Regions from separate parts of the Homo sapiens genome. Here region 1 is linked to region 2. Evidence: promoter capture Hi-C in 16 types of primary human blood cells and fetal thymus (Javierre and others, 2016). All regions are on one chromosome and are shown on one strand. The core of a region is centred on a gene start or on the middle of the fragment in contact, and the rest is flanking DNA. Distances in the headings are between cores, read along the strand shown. Region 1 overlaps SNPH (syntaphilin). Region 2 holds the start of FKBP1A (FKBP prolyl isomerase 1A).

What was found. The method cuts DNA at HindIII sites, captures the fragments that hold promoters and counts their contacts. A CHiCAGO score of 5 or more calls a contact.
Region 1: a contact is called between a fragment that was not itself captured here and the fragment with the promoter of FKBP1A in region 2, in 1 of 17 cell types (naive CD4 T cells). The highest score is 5.8, in naive CD4 T cells.

What each region holds. Positions count from the first base shown.
Region 1 is chr20:1,267,793-1,272,015 of GRCh38, forward strand. The region is part of intron 2 of SNPH (syntaphilin); the gene reads left to right. Among named protein-coding and RNA genes, the nearest start is that of SNPH, 3.6 kb to the left of the region's middle. The HindIII fragment of the contact is 5,874 bases long and covers 1-4,223 here.
Region 2 is chr20:1,391,270-1,396,077 of GRCh38, forward strand. FKBP1A (FKBP prolyl isomerase 1A) reads right to left here and starts at 1,785. Exons shown (of 5, transcript NM_000801.5): 1 at 1,693-1,785; 2 at 1,565-1,612. The coding sequence starts at 1,729. FKBP1A-SDCBP2 (FKBP1A-SDCBP2 readthrough (NMD candidate)) reads right to left here and starts at 1,903. Exons shown (of 10, transcript NR_037661.1): 1 at 1,693-1,903; 2 at 1,565-1,612. It overlaps MIR6869 (microRNA 6869), which reads right to left and starts at 1,692; the gene lies at 1,631-1,692. RefSeq lists enhancers at 1-385, 1,177-1,677 and silencers at 1,412-1,481, 1,492-1,591, 1,792-1,841. The HindIII fragment of the contact is 4,016 bases long and covers 688-4,703 here.

The DNA.
Region 1 (4,223 bases), core at 974-3,473, 120 kb before region 2:
CTCAAGGAGCTGGAGGTGCCAGACAGTCCTATGTTGACATCCCTGAGCTGCCAAGTGACTTCCCTTCCCCCAGCCTCAGTTTCTCCATCTGTAAATCTAGGGGTACAGCCCGCAGAGGGCTGATGTGAAAATTAAATGAGATGTATGTGGAAGCACCTAAAATAGTGCCTGTGCCTGGCACATAGTAGGTTCTCAGGAACTCAGGACTTGGGAGATAGGCTGGGGGAAGAGAGGAAGAGGTGACTGCTTTTAGTCCTGTTCTCCTCCCCATCCCCTGCCTGTCTCTTCCACACCCCTGCAGATGGTGTCCCTGCCAGGGGTAATGAATGCTGAAGTGTATTGGGTCACCAGGCTGAGGGCCTAGGCAGGCAGCAACATTTCCACTGCAAAGGTTGTGACATCATTCTAGCAAATGATGGTCCCAAGGAGGACTGTAGCCCAGCATTGGGTTTGGAAAATCCTGGCATCCAAGGGCGGAGTCTCTGAGGGAACAGAAGCAGCAGATTCTTGTGTGCTGGCAGCAGGGCAGGGATCAGGTCTTCCGGATCTCACATGAATCCCACTGTGGCTCTCTTGCCCTCCCTGGAGTGTCTCCCTAGAGTCACCCTGAGGCCAGGCAGTCAAGTTTTTGGTGCTTGTATTTTCGATTCTTTATCTTCCTTCCTGCTGTCATTTTCAGCCTAGCACTCAAGCCTTTCTCGCTCCTCTTTATTCCAGATACCTCCTGCCTTTTGACAGCATGATAAAGGAGGTTCTCCATAGGGTTGGGTGGGGAATTTTGCTGCTGCACCATTTGGGCCAAAAGAAGTTGTCATGTCCCCCCACCCCCACCCTAAATTCCTATTTGGCAGAGGCCCTATCATTTTCCTTTCTCTATCTCCAGCCTCTGGCCCATGAGTAGGCCCAAAGTAGGTGCTCCGTAAGTGTTGAATGAAACAAACTTGAGGAAATTATGTCCCTAAGCCAACTAGGTTAGGGAGAAACTGTAGGAATGTGTTGATTATGTAGGTGAAAGCCCTTTTTAGTGTAGGACATCGTCCAGGTTGTTGGTTGTCATTATTATTGCTATTACAGCTACTGTTATTATTGCTATTGTTGGTGATTAACAGATGCTTCGCCTACTCCTCTAGGGCTCCTGACTAGACCAAAAGGGGCCAGATGTGCCTGGGAGGGTGGTGATGTTGGCAAAAAGGGATCCAGATGGTGCCAGCTGGTGTGAGATGACTGTGAAGGGAGGAGGATTGGGAAGGGAATGATTCTAGCCATTTTCTGTGTTTGAGGGAGGAGAGCAGGTAATTAGAATCAAGTGGGACAACATGGATATGCAGTAGAAAGTCAGGAGACCCAGGTCCCATGTCCCATTGAACCACTGCCTTATTATGTGACCTTGGGCCAGTCAGGCCTCCCCTCAAGGCCTCTGTGTGCCCATCTATATAATGATGGGACTGGACTAAGTGATTTCTAAGACCCCTTCTGCTTCTGACATTCTGTCGAGTGGATTTTGTTAAATAAAAATCAGACAACTATGATTACCCTCAACGTCATTTATGAAGTCCCAGACCATTAACTGTCTCAGGTAATCCTTAAAGAAAATTATGACCATTTCAAAGATGGGGAGACTGAGGCTTGGAGAGACTAAGTGACTTGCTGAGGGTTGCGCGGCTAGAACTGCTATCCGACACCAGGTCTGTCTGCATCGTCCCCTTCCAAAGGTTTCGCTGCCTCTTCATGCATACCTTGCTGATGCTGTGAGCTGTGTGTGCACTTGCAGGTGGGAACAGGGGTTTGGAGAAGAAGAAGCTGTGAACAATTTACGGTGAGAGATCAGGCATTTCTCCCAGGTGATTGGTGCAGGGTACTTCCTGGTTGAAAACTGTGTGAACCAGGAATGGAGAGTTTTCCTTTCACCGTGAGCCCTGCTTTGCTGATGTTTGGTGGATGCCCCTTTACCGAGGATAATGGTTAGGCCTGAATGACAGTCAGGACAGACACACTTTTTTAGTCTTCTTATGTGTTGTGCTCTGTTTTACACAGGTTCAATAATTTACTGCTCAGATCATCCCATTATGTAGGCACTATATATAAATTTACCCATTTTTATAAGTGAGAAAGCCAGGGCAGAGAGGCGAAGGGTCTTACCCAGAGTCGTACAACCAGTGTATCATAGAACCTAGAAAATGTTTAGCTGGAAGTGCACTGGACTGGGTGTCCAAAGGGTTGCTTTTAGTCTGAGCCCTCTCAATAACTGAATAACCTTGGGTCAGCCAGTTTCCCTCCAAGAGTTCCCATCCCTCAAATGATCTGCATGCATCTACTGGCTCCGAAAGGCCTACATGCACCCTTGTTCCAGTATTGGAGGTGGAGGGGATTCCTTAACTTGCTAAACATTGACCAGCATTTGTCCTTATTTATTAGCTAGGCCCTGGGCTAAGTGCATAGCATGCAGGAAAGAGTAAATTGTGAGTCCTAGTTTCAAGAAGCTCATATCTAACAGAGGGAGACAGACACCTAAACGTGTAGATATGAGAAAACATCTGGAAGCTATAAGACATACTGATATGTGTGTGATGGGGTGGGGGGACAGAGAGAGGGGAATGATCTTTCCTACTGAGTGGGTCAGGAAGGCTTTAGAGAGATGATGCCATTGTCATCTCTATTTTTGGCATTGAGCTTGTGAATAATAATTTAATAATAATAGTAAAGGGTTCTACTCGATTTAGAATGTTTCCAAACAGCCCTAAAGACTTGTTGGCTCCTGTCCTCATCAATCTAGAAGGTGGACATGGAGTCTAGGGGACTATCCAAGCTCACGCTGTAACACAATTTTGATGGAACTATCTGTTTGTCCCAGGTAGACCAGAACCTTTCCTGTCCTTAAAGCCTTCTAGAAGCAGGATTTTGAAATTCCTCTGACAAAGACTGTCTTGTGCCTATAATCATCTGATAGGCTTGGGGAATTCTTCTTCATGTCTATTCTAGGCATCCCACCTGTCTGGAGGAACGCCTAACACCTGAGAGGTGAAGTCATTTGCCTAAGATTACTCAGCAGGGCTTGGTTCATAACTCTGGCCTAACGGGGATTGCATTTCTAAGCCACATGGGGTCTTTCTACATCTAGGCCACCAGAAGCCCCAGGTGCCAGTTCTCCATTTGATGGGCAGCTGGTGCTGTGGGAAGTCTCGATGCAGGTGATGTGAAGCTCAAGCCAAGGGCCATGGAGAGGCTGAGGCCTGTGCACCCCAGGCTGCTTTGCATTAATGGACAGATATTTATGACGTGTTTGTCGCATACTCAGCACTGTCCTCTGAATTGAGGGGCTGAGCCAACCAAAAGGGAGTGGCTGGAAAGCAGCCTGGCACAGCAGGAAGAGCCAGCACCGAGGAGTCAGTAGACTTGGGTCCTCACCCCAGCTCTGCCGTTGACCCACTGGGTGGCCTTAGGTCAGACCCTTTGCTTTTCCACACCTGCAAAATGGGAGTCAGAGGTGATGATATCTAAGAGCCCTTCTAGCTCTGAGTGGCTAACAATTCAGAAACTCTTTCTTCTTCTTCTTCTTTTTGTTTTTTGGAGGCAGAGTCTTACTCTGTCACCTAGGCTGGAGTTCAGTGGCATGATCTTGGCTCACTGCAACCTCTGCCTCCCGGGTTCAAATGATTCTCCTTCCTCAGCCTCCTGAGTAGCTGGGACTATAGGCATGCGCCACCATGCCCAGAAAATTTTTGTATTTTTAGTAGAGAGGGGGTTTCACCATGTTAGCCAGGCTGGTCTCGAACTCCTGACCTCAGGCAATCCATCTGCCTTGGCCTCCCAAAGTGTCTTTCTTCTGTTCTGTAATGACTTTAGGGGGTAAAAGGGTGGATAGGATACATATAATTGTTACTTGAGGAAGAATAAGATAAATATAACAAAAGGCATGAACAAATGCTTTGTGGATTTGCTGGAGGGAGAGGGGTTGGGAAAGACTCAGTTCAAAAGCCACCTCTTCAAAAATAGAATGATGCAGACATGGTTAGATGAAGTTATGAGTTTTTGTTTTTTTGTTTTAACCAAGAGGAGTAACAGAAGATTGCTGTCATACTGGGACAGGAAGTCTGTAGCAGAGCAGTGGGTCTTGGACTTAGATTTCACAAAGACCAGTGCATTTGGGAATCCATCCTCGGTTAGCTAGCTTTTTATTTTACCAGACGAGGACATTCAGATGACACTTAGGGTCCTCTTTACCA
Region 2 (4,808 bases), core at 535-3,034:
TGAACTGCCCACTCACCCCAGCACTGTAAATGGTTACTCTCCTCATCCTTCCGATGACAAATCACCAAAAGGATGCGCTTTCATCTACCAGACCTCCCAGGCTCAGGTGCTGACTGTGGCCTACAAGGACAGCTATCTAAAACATCAAAAGCACTTTCCAGCTTCCTTCACGGACATGAGACTGCCTGCTCCCCAGAAAGATGGGTTTCAGTAACTCCTCCTTTGGCAGAATTTTTAAAGTTCTAGTCCTTAACTTCTACCTCCTGCCCCCATTTCTACCCACGGGGAAGGGCCACAGAAATAAAAGGGCATGGGAGGGGGGATGTTAGTTGCCTTTTCCTCTTTCCAGTGAAAGTCATTTCCCTCAATAGAGGGATCCCTCCATGTTTCCATGATTTGGAAGAGAAAGGTGGAGCTTATTCGTGAGCAACTTGGCCAGAACTGCCCACAGCCTACTACCCAGGAGGAGGAAGAGGAGGAGAGGGAGTGGGAAAAAAAGAGGGAGGAGGAGGGGGAACAGAGGAAAGGGTGGGAAGGTTGAGAAAGGGGAAGGAGGAGGGGGAGGGAAGGTTATTCGTATCAACAACTGTGGCTACACCAATCACTGCCACCCTTGTGGGACCCACAGCCACTGAGTCTCCGCCAACTCAGCTCTCCCCCTCCCCCGCCCCCATACAAACCAGGACAAGCTTGTAAGGAGAAGGAGTAAGACAGCCCCAAGGCACACGACTCTGATGTCTGAATTCTGGCTGGGGAGGGGGAGGTGTCTAAAATTTCCTTTGGCTTGTATTATCACTATGTATTAGCCTCCAGATGCTTATCTTTAAAATGAGGACGAGAAAAGTCTCTACTTCTAGAAGAGCTGGGGGACTAAATTACACGTGCAGCTTTCGGTCAGCCTGAGCCAGCGCTGTCACTGAGCCTTGGATTTGTAAGTGGCTCAAAAGTAAAAAGACGGAAGAAGGCCGTGCAGCTCTACTTCCCCCAAGGCCAGGAAGGGCCAAAGCAATGACTTAGGAAGTGGGATGTTTCCCCACCCTAGGCAAAGGGGCGAATTCCGAGTTCCCCGGAGGAAGCAGCAGCTCTGCAGACTCGGAATTACCTCGTCCTCATCTCCAGTGAAGGGAGGGATGGAAGTGGGGGCAGGGGCACAGAAATGGTACAAATCCTTCCTAATGGTCCCTGGCCAGAGCTCTGCCCATTCCTGAAAGTGTGACCTTGGGAAAGTGAGACCTTGGGAAAGTGACTTCGCCTCGCCAAGCCTCAGTTTCCTCATCTGTGCAGCGGGCATAAGGGCAGCATCTAAGGTGCAGAAATGCTTCTGACGGGTCAGATAACACCTAGCCCGCAGCCGACGCTCACAGCCGCCGATTCAGACCCGCCCGGGTTCCGCAAGCCCCAGGCTGCCCCTGAGCCACCGCCCAGGCCTCAGCCTCGGGCCATGCGGACCTCGCCGCCGCCACGCCCCGGACCCCAGGCCCCGGGCCCCCAGGCCTCGACGGCCAGCCGCACCCGGGCTGCGGACTGCGGCCCGGGCCCCCTCCCCGCTGGGCCCCCGACTCACCGGTGTAGTGCACCACGCAGGTCTGGCCGCGCTTGGGGAAGGTGCGCCCTGAGGAGACAGAGACGGGCATGCTGAGCCGATGCGCGCGGCGGCAGAGGTACTCCGAGCCGCCGCGCGCCACTACTCACCGTCTCCTGGGGAGATGGTTTCCACCTGCACTCCCATGGCGGCGGCGGACGCTGAGCGGGCGGGCGGCGCGACGGGCGGCGTGGACCAACAGCGACCTGGCGGCGGTTCCACGGCTCTGCCTAGTACCTCGGCGCGTCGCCTGCGCACGCGCACGCCCCCTCACGCCCAGCCCTGCGTGCGCGCCCCACACGGCGCGCGACGTCCCGGAAACCCAGGCCTCCGGAAGAGGGACCGGAAGCCCAGAAGCCCCGAGACCTCCGGAAGCCCGGAGGCCTCCGGATACAGCTGTGTTTGCCGGGTGACTTGCTTCGTTCTCCTGCCCTTCCTCTGTGCTTCCAGCCGGTTAAGCATCTCCCTGCCCAAAGAATGGGAGTAATAATAGGGGGTCCGCCAGTCACTGACTGGGTGACTGTCATCAGGTTTCCACTTAGAAGCACACAGTTACTCATCCTGGGAAGAGCATGGTTCTGAGAAGACAGCGCACAGGTGGTGGTAGTATGTTAGTATTTTATAAGTGGCTCAAGGTTGTAAGTTCTGCTTTTCTTCACTGGAGGAGGAGTTGTCCAAATTCATTCACTCACCCATAGCTTACATGCATACATTCTTATTGAGCATGTGAAAGTTGATAATACGAATTGGGTCACTCTTCTTATGCCCAACGGAATCAGAATCCAGGGGCCAGGGGAAAAGCACTGGAGGCACGCAGCGCCTGCTCCAAGAACCAATATTTCCACTAACTGCTGCGGAAATGGCCTGCTGTCCCCCTGAGACCAGATTCAGCTAGTAACTGCTGAAACAACCCGCCATAACCTAATACTAGTTTTACTTACCACTGTCAGTCACCAATCAGAGCTTGCCAGCTCCCTGAAACTTTACTAGTGCCAATGCATTTCCCTTTCTAATAAAACGCCCAGCCTTCTCTTTGTTTTTCGGACATACCAAAGACCACCAGATCTGTGTGTATGCTCCGAGTTGCGATTCTCGCTTCCCCAAATAAAACATTACATTTAGAGATTCATCTCCATATTTTATTTTGACTTTGACAAGCACCTTCTGTATGTCATGTACTGTGCTAGGTGCTGAGGATACAGCGGTGAAGGAGTCAGACTTAGTCCCTGACCTCACAGAATCTACGTATGATGTGGGAGAGATAATCAAATAACCTGTTTAAGTAAAAAAAGATACGGAATAAATGTAAAGTTTCAAATCTGTAATATTATGAGACAGTAATACATGCTGTGAGGGGCGTGTTAATATAACAGAGATGCCTCACTTAGTCTGGAATGTGGTCAGATATTTCCCTGAGTTAGCCAGGTTTAGCCAGGTTTAGCCAAGGTTAGAAGGCCAATTGTGTGTATGTGTTGGGGTAAGGGGAGGCAGAAGGAGCAGTACCTGCAGAGGCACTGTAACGCAAGAGAACACTGTGACATGGTCTAGGACATAAGGAGGCACATGTGACTAATCTTTCTCTGATCTGTGTGTGTGTGTGCTTCTGCATTAGTCGATTCTCACACTGCTATAAAGAATACCTGAGGCTGGGCACGGTGGCTCATGCCTGTAATCCCAGCACTTTGGGAAGCTGAGGCGGGCAGATCACTTGAGGCCAGGCGTTCAAGACCAGCCTGGCCAACATGGTGAAACCCAGTTTCTACTAAAAATACAAAAAAATTAGCCAGGCATGGTGGCACAGGCTTGTAATCCCAGCCACTTGAGAGGCTGAGGCATAAGAATTGCTTAAACCAGGAGGCGGAGGTTGTAGTGAGCCAAGATTGCACCTCTGCATTCCAGCCTGGGTGACAGAGTGAGAACCAGTCTCAAAAAAAAAAAAAAAAAAAAAAAATTCCTGAGACTGGGTAATTTATGGAGGAAAGAGGTTTAATTGACTCACAGTTCTGCATGGCTGGGAATCCTCAGGAAACTTACAATCATGGCAGAAGGGGAAGCAGGCATATCTTACACAGCAGCAGGCATGAGAGAGAGTATGTGAAGAGGAACTGTCAAACACCTATAAAACCATCATTTCTCATGAGAATGCACTCACTACCATGAGAACAGCATGGGGGAAACCACCCCCACCATCCAATCACCTCCCACCGGGTCCCTCCCTTGACCTCAGGATTATAGGGATTACAATTCAAGATAAGATTTGGGTGGGGACACAGAACTAAACCATACCAGCTCCTGTAGTGTTTTAAACATGACCTCACAGTTTTTTGACACCCCAACCCTCATCTATGTCCCCTTTCCTAAAATCTCAGTGAGCTCGTGACTGCTTTGGAAATTTTAATGTAGTAAGAATACAGGCTGTAACAGAACCAAATTAACTGTGGCTGAAAAGAGGCTGAAGTTGCTGTCTCTCTCATGTAACAGTTCAGAGGCAGGTGGTTCAGTGCAGGTAGGACTTCACAGGCTGCCCAGGGACTCATCCTTCTTCTACTTGTGGCTCCCCATCCTTAGAATCCTACCCTCATATGCATGGTCCAAGTTGGCTCTCCAACATATTTTCATCTCAGCTAGTGGGAAGGGGGAAAGGAGGAATGGGGGGTACATTCCCTTTTCCTTTAAGGGTACGACTTAGAATTGCACACATCTCTTCCCGTTATACTTCACATTGACTATAACTTAGTTATATGGTCAAATTTAGCTGCATGGGAGGCTAGGGAATAAAGTCTTCATTCTGGGTGTACACACACCCAACTAAAATCAGAGGTTCTGTGCTCATAGAATGGAAGAATGGAGATCGAAAGATGAAATTAAAAAGAGGGCCCCAGCAGTCGCCAGGACACTGCTTCACACCACCTAGAGAAAATCAGACTGCAGCGAGAATAAATGATGGAGAATGAGAGCAACCAGGGGCGAGAGAGTTCCTGGATTCCGTTTTCCCTGAAGCCTAGCAGAATAAGGCTTGCCTCACATTCATCCTGTGGTCTCTCTCATGGCTCTGAATTGGGTATCGGTTCAAAACATAGACCTGCCTTTGAGACAGTGGCCATCTCAATCCATGGATATAAGCTTTGTTTATATAGATGGGGGTTCCCCAAGAACCTCACATTTGCACCACTTCTTCCTCAGTGCTTTGGGAAAACACAGGAAAGCATGTAGCTATCAGTTCTGC